Linked DNA regions of Homo sapiens: all the other regions are linked to region 3. Evidence: promoter capture Hi-C in human tissues and cell types (Jung and others, 2019). All regions are on one chromosome and are shown on one strand. Each heading gives the region's core, a stretch centred on a gene start or on the middle of the fragment in contact. The rest is flanking DNA. Distances are from core to core; before and after follow the strand shown.

Region 1 (2,700 bases), core at 119-2,618, 900 kb before region 3:
AAAGCTAATATTACTTTATTATAAATATTTTATACTATAAATATTCATGTGTCTTTCCCTTGAAATTATTGTGTGTATTTCAAAAACCGTTGAATGATTTTTGAAAATGTTTTCTATCACTGAATAATATTTCATGGTATGATTTTATTTTATTGGTTTGTGGTTTTTCAATATTATGAAATCACTCTAATCTTTGCATATAGTATTTAATTTTCTAATATTTCTTAGGAAATAATCCTAAAAAGGAAATTACTTGTTCAAAGAGCATGAACTTTTAAAAATGCTTTTGATATATGTTGCTATATTAATTCCCAATTTAAAATGACTGCTTTAGCACAATCTAGCCAAAATTCTCTATGTTATTTTATCCATATTCTGGCATAAATATGGAGGAAACTCACTACAAAGTTGATATCAAACAAGGATTATAATATCTATATGGAGGGCCTTCTGCTTATGAGAAAGAGATCTATTACATATTTTCATGTATTTGCACTATAGTTTCACCAGCAACACATTTAAGTTTTTAGATTGAGGAATAAATAAACCAAAGAATGTGTAGAGCCCCTACAAGTGTAAGCTAATTTTTTCACAACTTCTAGTACATTTTAAGCACAGTGAGTATAGTAAATGTTTGATGGAGTAAAATGAGTGAATAAGCCTCAGTAACATATTTTTGTTTTCTTGAATTTAATTATTTATGTTTAATTCTTTATCCAGTTTTCTCCTTCAAAGGAAATTTAAATAAACTTAATAACTAATTTAAATAATTTAAACACTATTTTTCTAACTACTCCAGTGCTCTTCTTGAGCTTTTTAAAAAACTCGTTGTTTTTGATATTGAAAGCTTATTTTAATTTGTGAAAAGTTAAGAGGTCCCTCTGGTGGAACATTGAAGAAATACATAGTTTATATTTCCGTGAAAATACATGATTGGTTTTTAAGTTAGATGGTAGTGACTTTGTATAACTTTTTATGGAATAATGTAATGAATGGGTTTACGTTCCTAGGTTGCTTTCAAAACCTTCTTAACCTTTAACACAATGAATATGTTTAAGATTTGTGAAGAAAATAATAGGAAAGTAGACAGCTGCAAATGTGTCAAATTATGGGGCTGGATAGACTTTTATGGCCTAGAATGCTAATTACTGTTAATAAAAGTCTGTGTGGAAAAATGAGTGTTCTGAGAAGTGGAGTGAGGGGGAAATTTTATGATAATAATTAAGGTTTATAAAGTACAGTGTGGTACTTTCTATATGTTAATTCTAATTTCAGAATGATCCAACAAGATAGGTGGTATTAGACCCATTTCATAAAGAAACTAAACCATAGAGGGGCTAATAACTAGAGTATCCAGCTACTATGTGATGGAACTGGGAATAGAACCAAAGTACTTGCTCTTTTCTATATATTGTTCTGCCTCTTAAGTGGATGGAGTGGATTCATAATCCTTAGCTCCAGCTATTGAGTGGGCAAGGGACTGGTGCTATTAAGGGTTAGGATCTGAAAAAGTGGTCAAAGTAGATACATCTGGATAGGTGGCATATTTTTCACTTGTCCCATTTAAGGTTGTACATATAGCTAATCTGTAATGGAGCCAGCATCTGGTTCTGGGTCTACTTGATTCTAAAGACTATGTTTTTTTCTGTTATTCTAGCAGGTGAAAGATCATACAATTCTTACTGAATCAGGAGTTACATCCTGTTCAGCATTGTGGATTTCTGTGTGTTATATTTTAATTAATTTTAAAAGGTGCCATCTGATGCATAGTGTAGATCATCTCACAGTTCACTAGAATATTCACCAGCTGGAAGGCTGCATGGCTATTACTGTGTAAATTATCAGTTTCATAAACTATCCATATTAGGTTTTTAGTCCTTGCTTGATTTCTCCCTATACCAGTGCCTTTTTCCCTTCTTACTAACTAAAGTTTTGTTGCCTTATTTAATGAAACAGTATTATTTTTGTACTTGGAAACTGTAATCCAAGTTCAGAGCATCTGATGTGGGTTTTAAAGTACACATTTTTGACCCACGATTTTGAAAATAAAGAACATTTGGGAGAGTTCATGGGGGTATGCGTGAGTACACACATAATGTGTTAGATTTAAGATTTGGGAAAATATACTTCAAATTTAGAAAGATTTACATGAAGCAGTCAGTGGTATACTGACTGAGCTCTTGCCTATAAGTAAATAGTAATAAACAATAGTAATAAAAGTTGTGCCTTAAAAATTAAAAACTTAGTTTCTTCCTGATTTTTGTCATCAGTTATTGGAAAATGTTTGTTTTATGATGCTGGAATGCCTTACCTTAGAGGTTAGCAAGCCATGGCTTATGGGCCAGATCCAGCCTGCCTGTTTTTGTATGGCTTGTGAGCTGTGGTTTTACAACAGTTTTAAAGCTTGCTTTTAAAAAAGAAAGAAAGAAATTTATATGGCTGCACAGCTTAAAGTGTTTACTCTCTGGCCCTTTACGGACAAAAGAAAAAGCTGACCAACCCCTGCCGTGCCCACAGCTTTCCAGGTGGCTACAAAAAGTGAATAATAAAACAGTTTAAACTGTTAAAATCAGGTATATGCTATGTATGCTACAGTATTAGCATCAACTATTTGGCACAAGCAAATAATTCAATTTTTGCTTTTATAAAAATTCCATTTTCTAATACTCTAGAATGCCGTATATATATTTGTGGAAATAG
Region 2 (2,700 bases), core at 162-2,661, 570 kb before region 3:
TAAGGATTATCTGCAAGACACCTTGGACCCATTAAAAAAGTTCAGATTCAGGGGAGTGTTTCCCATGAGAAGCTATGATTTCAAATTGTCTCAAAGAAGTAGCCATTGAAGAAGAACTAGAAAAGGATAGATCAGTGATGTTGGAAGTAAAGGGGGAAGGATCTTCAGGTTTAAAGACTGTGGACACAGCATCTTTGGCTGTGTCTACACACATATGCAATTGATAGGAAGCAAATAGAACAGAAGCCAACTAAGATTTTTAGGAAACCACATTGTCAAAGACACCTCAAGCCTGCCTGAAAACAGTGTATAATTTTTATTTTTAAAACAAATTCCAGGCCTCTAGACCTGCAGTAGCATGAAGAGGTCTGAGGAAGCTGTGCGTCCCTCAAGAAAGCAATTCTTTATTGCCCATCAAAGATGAATCCATAGGGGATCATTAACAAGGAGATCATCCCAGAGAGCAGCTTCTAGAATCACCAACCAAGTAAGTCTCATTGCTATCCCTATACACCAAGGTTTGCTATTTGCTACTCATTCACAACTGTTGAGTGTTTCCCATTCTTCTATGTTTTAAACTGAAAGTTTAAAAAAAATTCTTGGTTATCCCGTTTCTTCTTTACATTTGCATAATGGGGAGTGGGTGTTGGGAGATAGCTTGTCTTTGAGCTTTGGGCTTTTAGTAGCAATAGTTTTTTTTAACAATTAGCATTACCGTTACTATTTAAGACAGAAGATTTGTCAGAAGAACAAAGACCTCAAAATGAGAAGGAATGTGTTCTGGACTTAAAACATTGCTCAGGTATCTTAGCAAGGACTGAGACCTTGGAGGTCTCCAAATACCAGTAAGAATCATTGTGTTATCCTCTTTCTCACATGTTGGATTTTTTTTTTTTTTTTTACTTGTGATTGATGAACTGGGAGAAAGGAAGTGGTCTAGAAAGGGTGAGAGTGGGTGGGTAGATAGGATACAGGTGGCCTCACCTGGAGAGTGGTCACCTGTGAACAGAAGCCATGTTGAACTCCCTGCACTGCCTCTTCTTCTCTGTTCCTTGCAATGACCTTTAGCTGGACTCAGTCAAAACGGCGCTGTCCTTCCCCTTCCCAACCTAAAGCTTATAGTGCAGTTAATCTAGAGGTCAGCTGAAGTGCAGATTCAAGTGGCTCAAACCCCTTTGCAGTATAGGGAAGGAGTCTGGAATAGGGAAAGGATGGGTTGGGGGTGAAGATGGGAGTTGCTCATGGCTTCCCTAATTAGCTCTGATTCAGAGCTCAGACTTCTGTTATCATTTCCTACCCACAAGTGCTGTCTTATTCCTTTGGTTTCCTTCATTTCTATTCAGCCTCATGAAATAAAGAAATAAAGAAAACAAACAAGTAAATAAAAACAAGATCTTTATGGATGTGGCAGAAAGCTTTGCAAGCCAAGAAAGTCTTCTATCCAGGTGATGCAAATAACTGTAAAACTTCAGACTTCTTGAACTACAAAGATGAACTCTGCCAACCCAAGTTCTAGTACTTCCTCTACTCCCAGCCTGACCCCCACTGTTTCTTGGTTTCCTCACTCCTTCTCTTTCTGTTTGACTCTTGAGAGTAATAAACTCAGCCAAGTCCTACTACTTGAGCCCATATTTAAATGCAGAACAATTTGGCCTTCAGTTTATTCTTCCCCCTTCTTCCAGACTCTGGTCTGATTTATCTTTTTATACTCTATAGCCTATTAGGGTTTTATAATAAAGGCTATCCTTCTCTAAGATTTCCAATGTAGCTATTATCCTTTAACCCTTCTGCACAGTTAACAAAACCAGTTGTTACTTTTTTTGGTGGGGGGTGGGGGTGGTTGTTTAGCATTTAGTGATTATTAAAATGACTACTGTTTCAGCAAAAAGTATTCATAAAAAAACTCAAAAAATTCAGAAAAGTACAAAGGAGAAATTGAATAATCTGTAGCATCTCAAACTCAGTATATGTCTAAGGACAGTCTCTGTTCTCCCCTGGTCTTATTCACGCCCTTCAAGCCCTTCTCTCTAATCAAGGAACAATTGGCTTGACTTTTCTAGCTTACCTCACTTAATTTTAGAGAAATATATATCCTGTTTGAGATCCAAAGAGGCATTTGTCAGCATTAAGGGTCTCCCTTATCTCCATCCATGCTCACAATATTTGGCAGGTATACTTCAGAGTTTGTGGTTTGGGATTATAGCTGTTTCCTCACTTCATTCATGATAGGGAGATGTTTTGTCCTTCTATTTTTGTTCCATTTATTGTTTTCATTGGATTTTTAGAAAGGGGAATGGCATAAGTGTTTTTACTCTGCTGTCTTTAACAAGAAGACTTACTTTTCAAAATAATTATTTGTCTGCTTTTAATTTTCTACTTCAAGAAAACGTTAAGGAAAGAATGTATAGCATTCTAGTTAATTTTCAGTTGCTTAGGTGCCTGATAAAGAGAAGCTTCCCTAAACAGCAGCCAGTTCTGTTCTGAAGATGGCCTTCCCATGGCACCAGTACCCTGGTTAGAATTTTCCCAGGGAGAGATGGCCTAGCTTCATGGGAGCTATCACCATAGATTGCCCATGCTGAGAGAACAGACCACAAACTACACCAGCTGCAGACACTTACACAGCACATGTAGGGAGAACAGAGGCTGATGCCCAAAGAACGAGAGGGATTGTACCTCAGCTGCACAGCAGCAGCAACC
Region 3 (2,700 bases), core at 179-2,678:
ATCAAACTTGTGGTCATAAGCAAACTACAAATCAAACCAATTCTGAAAGCACCTTGCATGTCTTTTTTCTTTTTTTTTTTTTGAGACAGAGTCTTGTTCTGTGTCCCAGGCTGGAGTGCAGTGGCGCGATCTCAGCTCACTGCAACCTCCACCTCTCAGGTTCACGCCATTCTCCTGCCTCAGCCTCCCGAGCAGCTGGGACTACAGGCGCCCGCCACCACGCCTGGCTAATTTTTTGTATTTTTAGTAGAGACGGGTTTTCACCGTGTTAGCCAGGATAGTCTCGATCTCCTGACATTGTGATCCGCCCGCCTCGGCCTCCCAAAGTGCTGGGATTACAGGCTTGAGCCACCGCGCCCGGCTGAATTTCTTTACAAAATACAGAAATTTAATTTCCCCAGAATGCAACAGCGTCATCACCTTACATTTATGCAACAGCTTACAAATTACAAATGATTTTTATAAACACTTCACCTCATCTTCATTATCCATCCTCTCAAGCCAACTTAACGACTGTAAACTTATCTATTCCTACTCTTGTTTTCTTTCCACTCAGTTCCGCCCTAAATCCTCCACAAGGTGCTCAGTGTGATCTTTTAAAAAAGCATTCACTGCCTTTCTTCGAGTTCTTTAAAGACCTCCTCCCTCATATATATTCAAGATCTACAAGGTCATTTGTGATCTGTCCCCTGCCTCCTTCAACTCTATTTCATTTCATTCTCCATCCCCATCCCCGCAGGCACCAACTACGTCTGTAAAGAGTCCAAACTATCTCTACGTCAGTGCCTTCATATTTGCTGTCCCTATGCCTGGCAACTGCTCTTCTCAAGGCTTGCTCCTTCATTCGCTACCTCAGAAAGGACTCCTCTGACCTCCGTAAGCTCCCTTCCCTGCTTATTAAGTGTTACAACCTGAAACCATTGTTTTCTGTCACGCCCCCCGACCCTCTCCCCAGACTGTAGACTCCACGAAGGTAGAGGGAAAGGTCTTGTTCACTGCTGAATCGCACACTTTTTGCATACTTGTTGAACGAACCACTAACATTTTTTGAACGCCGGCAATCACAGTCATTCCGCTCCCTTGTCTACATAACTCAACCCTTGCGAGGGGCTAGGAAAGCGGGCGGCAAACAACCTTGAGGGCCGAAGTTAACTTCAGCGGGAGTGAACGACAGGGGTGGGCTCCACTTTATCCAGTGCACTCGGAAGCCGGAGGGCCCCCACCAAAAAGAGCAAGGGGAACCCTCGCCCTCAACAAGGCCTGCATCTCCGGACTGGAGCTCAAGTATAGCCCAGCGAGTGTCAAGAAACGAAATTCTCCAAGGGTGGCGGAATCAAGCCCCAAGTCCCATGTGTCACTGGACCGGTGAGGAACCGAACTCACCTGAGAAACGAACACCCACACCTCACGCTCACGCCGACCGGAAGTCTTTGCACTTCCGTCTTCCGGGCGGAGGCCACCCGGGGCGGACGCATTGCACGCCGGGAGACAAAATGTCTCAAGAAGCCTTGAGAGGCGGGATTTTGGAACCCGGGCGCTGACGAGCTTCCGCCATTGGTGTGATCGCGGACCTAGAAACTTGGTCCGTCCCATACAGGTGTAGAAGTCGGATTTGGAGAATGCTGACGGGTGTCCGGTCAAGGTTAGGCCCCAGGTAGGTCCGCTTTCCGGACGTGGGCAGGGTAGCCCCGAGACTAACCTATGGAGTGAACCTGGCCAGGGGACCCTACTTGTCAGATAGGGAGCTCCGAGCCGACCTTTAGATCTGACCTCAGCGTTTACATGATACTCATGTATTTCCTTAGATCAAGTCAGCCTAGATCAGGTGTTCTTCCAGAGGCCGTATTGAGATCATTTTTATTTGCAGCCTGTGCATTTTCTCATCTCGGGTGATGGCCTCACAGATGTACACATATGTAAAACCGTATCAAACTGCACACTTTAAATATGTGCAACTTATTGCATGTCAGTTATACTCAAAGCGGTTACCAAAAACAGAAAACAAGCTTTTCCTACCCCAGAGAAGAATTTAAAGGGTAAAATGATCAAAGGATTTCAGTTCTATCAATGTTTACCTGTCTGATCACTTACGTATCAGACACAATGCTAAGCCTAGGACGATTGTCTTAGCTCACGAATAACACTTACTGTACAACTATTTCTACTGGCATAGGCTTTGGAACCATATAGGTCTGTGTTGTACTCTTGCTTCCAACACTTGTGAACGATATGGGTGAGTAATTAATGTCATAAGGGCCTGAATTTCCTTGTCCCTAAAGTGAACATAATACAACCTAATTGATGCTGTAAGAGTTCAACAAATGGTACCCTTTTTACATTATAGTTTCAAAAGTATAGCTACACAGTACTATTTGTAAGCAATGTTTCTAGAGATTTACGACATATACCCAAAAAACATGTCTTTAATGATGGCCTGGTAAACTCCTGCTGGTTGCCAGAAAAAGGGGTTCTGAGGCAATCTATGGGTACCTTTTTTCTTTAAATTTGTGTCCTTTATGAAACCATGCATAGTATGGAAATTACTGAATTCAGAATATAGCAAGGTTAAAGAGGCTGAAAAAAACCTAGAACATTTGATATAAAAAAAGGAAGCATGCCTAAGAAACCTGGTTTATTTAAATGAGATTTCGTTCTTATAAAGCAAGTGAATTTCTGTTTTACAAGTTAACCATATACTGT
Region 4 (2,700 bases), core at 29-2,528, 820 kb before region 3:
AGGCTAAATGTTTATAGAAACCACATTAATTAACAGTGTATTCTTCAAGATATGACAGTCATGGATTAAAGGGTTTCATAATGAGATTGTTTAACTGAAATATAAATATCTTTAAATTTTGATAAAATGATTCAAAGATAAATTCAGCAAAGCTGATAGTTTTTAAAAAATTAACCATTATGGTACAGTGCTTAAGCACACAAATTCTGTATGAGGTCAGACTGAGTTTAAAATCTGACTTTGCCACTGACTAGCTGTGTGCCTTAGCTTCCTTGTTTGTAACATGGAGATAATAATAGTACCAACCTGAAAGGGTTGCTGTGAGAATTAAATAGATTGGGATGTGAAAAGTGCTTAAACCTGTGGCTGGCATTTAGTAAACACCATATATGTCTTCACTATGTTCAATATGGAAATTCATGTATCTGTATTAATATAGATTTATGTTTTTCCAATACAACAGACTTTTCAAACTTTTAAACATGTCCTATGTTTCATTTAACTATTTTTTACTTTCATGGGACTCACAAATACACTTTATGTTTGAGGAATAACCATCTTGACCTGTTGTTCTGATCTCTTTATTTTACTTATGCACCCTGCTGAACCAGAATTCAAGTCCTATAAATATACAAGAGATTTCTTTTATTCTTACTACCCAGTACTGGTAAAAGCCCAAAGAAACTCTCATCTTTCTTATCTAGGGCTTGTAAACCCATTTTAATTTGAAAAATGAGTTGACTAGAATAGTATTCCATAATTTCTCGACCATTCAAGCACCACTAGTTTTTAAAGTGTTATGAAAGTCAGTCTTTGGGTGTCTACATATTTTATAACTTGGATTTAGCAAAATCTGTATCATCATCAATTTCTCTAACAGGATTTTGCTCTTAGATATATAGAAATGTTGAAGAAATTAACTTCAACAGTAATGAAACAGACTGCTTAAATTTTGAAAAATAAAGATGAAATTGAAATGGGAATTCTAGTCCCTATTAGTTTGTACAGGTAGGGAAGAGAAGAGGCCAAAATTGGAAATACAGGAAGTGAAGGTGAAAGTTTGAAGTCTTGCTTTAATATAATGTTGCTGGTCAAAACCCATTACAACAGAAATCTCTGTAAATCAAAAAGATGTCTGTTCCCTAACCAGTACCCTACTAATTTTGAGTATTATTCAATATGAAATAATTCCAGAACTAAAATATAATTGGAGCAAGCTCTTAAAGTTGATTATAACTGGATTGACCTGCATGAAGGCTATATCCCAGAAGAGTGATCTATTATTTTTCAGCTTTGACTTTTTTTACGTCTTATTTTTTTAATAAAGTATAATTTTAATTTGGAGCTTTTTAAGTGCATCTGAGTTATGGTTCACTCATGTTTGCAATTAAAGGTAATTTTTCTCTCGCAGAATTTCTTCTTAATTTCTTACAACAGTTTCCTTAATGTATTAAAAGAACACTGGATTAGGAGTTAGAAAACTCTAACCAAAGCTCTGTCCTTAACTTGCGTGACCTTGAACAAATCAATAAACTTCTCCTGATCACAGTCTCTTCATCTTTATGAGGAATTAAAATTAGATAGTATATTTAGTTCTTAAATTCTGTGATTTTATTAACTGTCACTTGTTTTTACTTTTGACTTTAGGTTAATCAGATCTTAAAACTCAGTACTAACTAATGCTGGGAACTTATACAGAGAAGTCTGCTGAGTTGTGGTGGGAGGACACAGTTTCCATGTTTGAACATTAGAATTCCTTGCCTCTTAATCAAGACTGAAGCATTATCTGAGGAGGAATCAGGAAGCCCAATTTTATACATAGTTTTAATGCTAGATAAAAATTAAGTGTAATTGTAGCTTAGACTAGATATCATGATAGCTTTCAGCCAAGTGAGGGTGAAATAAATAAAATTTGTCTAAATAGTACTAATTAGAGTGATAAATTATACTTTTTTTCTACCCTCATACATATAATTTGTGGTTGTGATTCTTATTTGACATTATTGGCATATTTAATAGTTTCCATGAATTGAAGAGTCACATGGCTGTAGCTTATAAATATATCATAGTTTTCTAATGTAGCAATTAGAAGTCTTAGAGATATTTTGCAAATGGTGTTAGAAAGTCATTGATTATCATCTGTATAACTAGAACTCCATGAATCAGCGGCTTATGGCTCCAGAGCTTAACACAGTGCCTGGCACTTAATAAATATATGTTAAATGAATCAGTAAACATTTGGAATGTTTATGTGTAGGTGAAGTCATAGCTGTAAGAGAGTACAAATTTATTTGAAACTCCTTTATATGGGAAGATTAAAAGTGAAGTTCATAGTTTGGTTTACTTTTGAATTTATTGTCTGACAATTTTTTCTCACTTTATTGCATTAATACAATACAGGGGATGTCATAGGTATAAATCACATTGTAGCTAAACAAAAAACAAAAGTGGCAACAGATTCAATGCATGTTATCCAGAATTGCTTTTACCTTTTCTTGCAAACAGTTTTGAGTTTTGGTAGTAAACTGTTTGAGGCGGTGAATAAGTACGTAGTATACTTAGCATAAGACTTAAGAACTCTGGCCCTTTTGATCACTTCTTTGCAGCAAATTATTGTTTGTTGTGCTTTAAAGTCTCCATTTGTAAAGAGGAAATACTACAGATACACATTAAAGCCACATCCATCAGTAACAAGTACTT
Region 5 (2,700 bases), core at 42-2,541, 550 kb after region 3:
GGACTTGTCTAGAAATACATGTTTTATACATCTTTTAAAATTACATCTGACCTAAAGAAAAAATATTTATTGTTCAATAATATATTCATTTTAAAAATGCTTTTTACACCTATAAATTGTCCCAGCCCAGAATTCTAAGTGCAAAAATGTCAGTGTCTGGCACATAGTAGGTACTTAATCGATATTTGTTAAGTATGTATTAGATATATGAAGAATGTAAGAATCAAGTAAAAATATCAAGAATGTGGGTGTTTGTAGAAAATTGTTTCCCTTTTATTCCATCATTTTCTCCTTAAGAAAATTAAGAAGAAATTGCAATTGCCATATTGCTTTTTCTTGTGGGTGATATCAACCACAAATAGCAAGGTAGTTTTGGAGTCATGAAGCAAACTTCCCCCTGCTAAGATCTGGGTAAGGTTTTAGCCACAAGAGGCCTAATAAAGCTCTTGAAGCATTTCCTAAGAGCTCACAGAAGATTTAAATGCCCTACTACTTTCAACTAGACAAATCCAATTCATTTTAACAAACAGTTTTGAAGTGCCTACTAAGTGTAATGCCTTGTGCTAAATGTCTGGAAGAGTGAGTGTTAGGTGGAGCCCTCAATGGGTATAAAGAAATATGTATGTTTGGGAGTTGAGGGTGAGGGTGTGGGAGTTGTGTGAGTAGGGAGAATGGGACAAGAAAGAAACTTCAAGTGTATATCCACCCCTGTCCCCAAATACACTCCTGACCCTAAAAGAAAGGTCATTTTAATATTGTAATTACATATGTTTCCTGGTTTTATCATTACAGCTTAAGAAAACAGCACCACAAGTATGGGTGGGGTGCTAGAACTCAATGAATCCACTTTGGAACAAGAAGCATGGGTGGAACTTGAACGTTGTTGGACAAGACTGAAGCAGATGGCAAGGCAAGGTACCGTGTTACTCAGGTGCATTCTTGTAAGTATTTGGACAGCCAGTTAAACACAAAGAAGAACCCAATTATGGCAAATTGATTCTGCAAAGAGATTTTATTTTAATCATCAACTGACAGTCTTAAGTTAAATACCAAATAGAGCAGACATAAAGATTTTGGAAAAAAGTGTGAGGTAGCAACTCCAAAGCAGTTATCAATACTTTCCTCAATTATCTAGATTTTTAGCGACTATCTTAGTAAACACTTAAATCTCCTTTCAATGCAGGAGATCAATGCTTCCATAAAATTCAGAAAACTGAGAAAGTTAAAAATATTTGTAAGAACTATAAATTGCTTGGGTTCACTCTCTTCCTTGTATGTAGTACTTATAAAAGAACTGATACAGATGAATAGAAAATACTGATTGTTTCATGTTTATGATGTAAGAAGACCATCAACTTCTCAACATCAAGATAAGTAAATGCCAAAATCAGGTCAGAAAAGAACTTTTCAGAATAAGGGCCTGCCTTTAAAAGTCTCAGCCAAAACCGTAACAGAAAGGATAGTCTCTTAGTCATGATTTATAAACAGAAATTGTACGTCTGTACCAATTGTAGAGGATAAAGTCAAAACAGAATTTACAGCCTCCTGCTAATAGCCTAATTTAAAATGTATAATCTTCCCTACATTTCCCCCAAAGTACCTTTTAAAGGACTCACTCTGCTATCCAAACAACTTGCAAATGCATTCGGTAAGTTGGTCTACAGTATTTATTCTCTTTCCTGTTATTGACTCAAGATCTATTTCTCATGATTTGCTTTGTGCTCATTCTTCTGCCAGATAAAATATTAATTGCATTTTTAGCTGCACTGCTGGTGATCAAAGAATTCTGATATGTCAAGCTAAACTGACAGAAATAGCATCCATTAACATATTTATAGGTTCAGAGCTTCTAGAACATAATTATATCCATTAATTACTCAACAGTACTCTATATTACAGGCTGAAAAAGAAAGGCATTTGCAACTAAATACTTTTACTCAGAATGAAGTTTTTTTTTAAATAATAAATTTTCTCTAAGGAAGGTTCTATCTAAAGGAAATAAGGCAAGAGAGCTCACATATCTATATGGACACAAGGCAGGATTTTTAAGGCATCCATTTACTAACTTTGCAATAGAATGCTCACAAAGTAAACGAGATGGCACATCCAGAATGGTTTCAAATAAAATAATACCTTAAATATTACAGAGAAATTTAATTACTATTTTAGAGTTCTAAGAGTGACAATCTGAAGCTGGTAATTCTTGATGATAAGATTCCGAGCAATGATTTTTACTTTCAAATAAACTTCTAGTATTACATAGGACCAAAGCATTTGGAATTACATACTTTTCTGAACATGCAATTCTAACACATAAAGAAATTAAAGCTGTCCAGGGAAAAAGCTCTTAAGATGTTGGAAAGTCATAGAACAAACAATTATTCTGTGGATCCACCAGCTGTGCGAGTCCTGAATCTGCCAGCTGCATTTAGTATATGTATCATAGAAAGGACAGTAACACACACTTGACTCCTTTTGGCCAGTTAATCAGCATGCAAAATGACGGTTTCCCACAATAACTTCAGCACCGGACCCAAACACATTCTCTTTTCAGCAAAGAATGAAGTCATTAAAAAAAAAATCACACAAGCTGCTTTCATAATTTCAGCACGAACACAACCGAGATGTAAGGACAGAAAGCAAAGCCGAGTCTACCTGTACATATGTATCTATACATATTTCACTGAGTTCTTTGTTGCC

Evidence for each region. The method cuts DNA at HindIII sites, captures the fragments that hold promoters and counts their contacts. A contact is called where the count stands out against the background at its distance.
Region 1: a fragment that was not itself captured here is called in contact with the fragment with the promoter of LLPH in region 3 in 1 of the 25 tissues and cell types used here (hippocampus).
Region 2: a contact is called between a fragment that was not itself captured here and the fragment with the promoter of LLPH in region 3, in 1 of the 25 tissues and cell types used here (adrenal gland).
Region 4: a contact is called between a fragment that was not itself captured here and the fragment with the promoter of LLPH in region 3, in 3 of the 25 tissues and cell types used here (bladder, mesendoderm cells and thymus).
Region 5: a contact is called between a fragment that was not itself captured here and the fragment with the promoter of LLPH in region 3, in 2 of the 25 tissues and cell types used here (adrenal gland and lymphoblastoid cells).

Annotation. Positions count from the first base shown.
Region 1 is chr12:65,231,818-65,234,517 of GRCh38, forward strand. All of the region lies in intron 4 of LEMD3 (LEM domain containing 3), which reads left to right. Among named protein-coding and RNA genes, the nearest start is that of MSRB3, 46 kb to the right of the region's middle. The HindIII fragment of the contact is 3,788 bases long and covers 1-2,700 here.
Region 2 is chr12:65,559,243-65,561,942 of GRCh38, forward strand. The region is part of intron 2 of MSRB3-AS1 (MSRB3 antisense RNA 1); the gene reads right to left. LOC105369808 (a long non-coding RNA gene) reads left to right here. Exons shown (of 4, transcript XR_945035.3): 3 at 339-487; 4 at 730-1,756. Among named protein-coding and RNA genes, the nearest start is that of LINC02454, 42 kb to the right of the region's middle. The HindIII fragment of the contact is 4,890 bases long and covers 1-2,700 here.
Region 3 is chr12:66,129,322-66,132,021 of GRCh38, forward strand. LLPH (LLP homolog, long-term synaptic facilitation factor) reads right to left here and starts at 1,429. Exons shown (of 3, transcript NM_032338.4): 1 at 1,384-1,429. LLPH-DT (LLPH divergent transcript) reads left to right here and starts at 1,430. Exons shown (of 2, transcript NR_125724.1): 1 at 1,430-1,654. RefSeq lists enhancers at 1,153-1,302, 1,343-1,452. The HindIII fragment of the contact is 6,410 bases long and covers 1-2,700 here.
Region 4 is chr12:65,310,596-65,313,295 of GRCh38, forward strand. All of the region lies in intron 2 of MSRB3 (methionine sulfoxide reductase B3), which reads left to right. Among named protein-coding and RNA genes, the nearest start is that of MSRB3, 33 kb to the left of the region's middle. The HindIII fragment of the contact is 9,744 bases long and covers 1-2,700 here.
Region 5 is chr12:66,676,042-66,678,741 of GRCh38, forward strand. The region is part of intron 1 of GRIP1 (glutamate receptor interacting protein 1); the gene reads right to left. Among named protein-coding and RNA genes, the nearest start is that of GRIP1, 1.7 kb to the right of the region's middle. The HindIII fragment of the contact is 5,728 bases long and covers 1-2,700 here.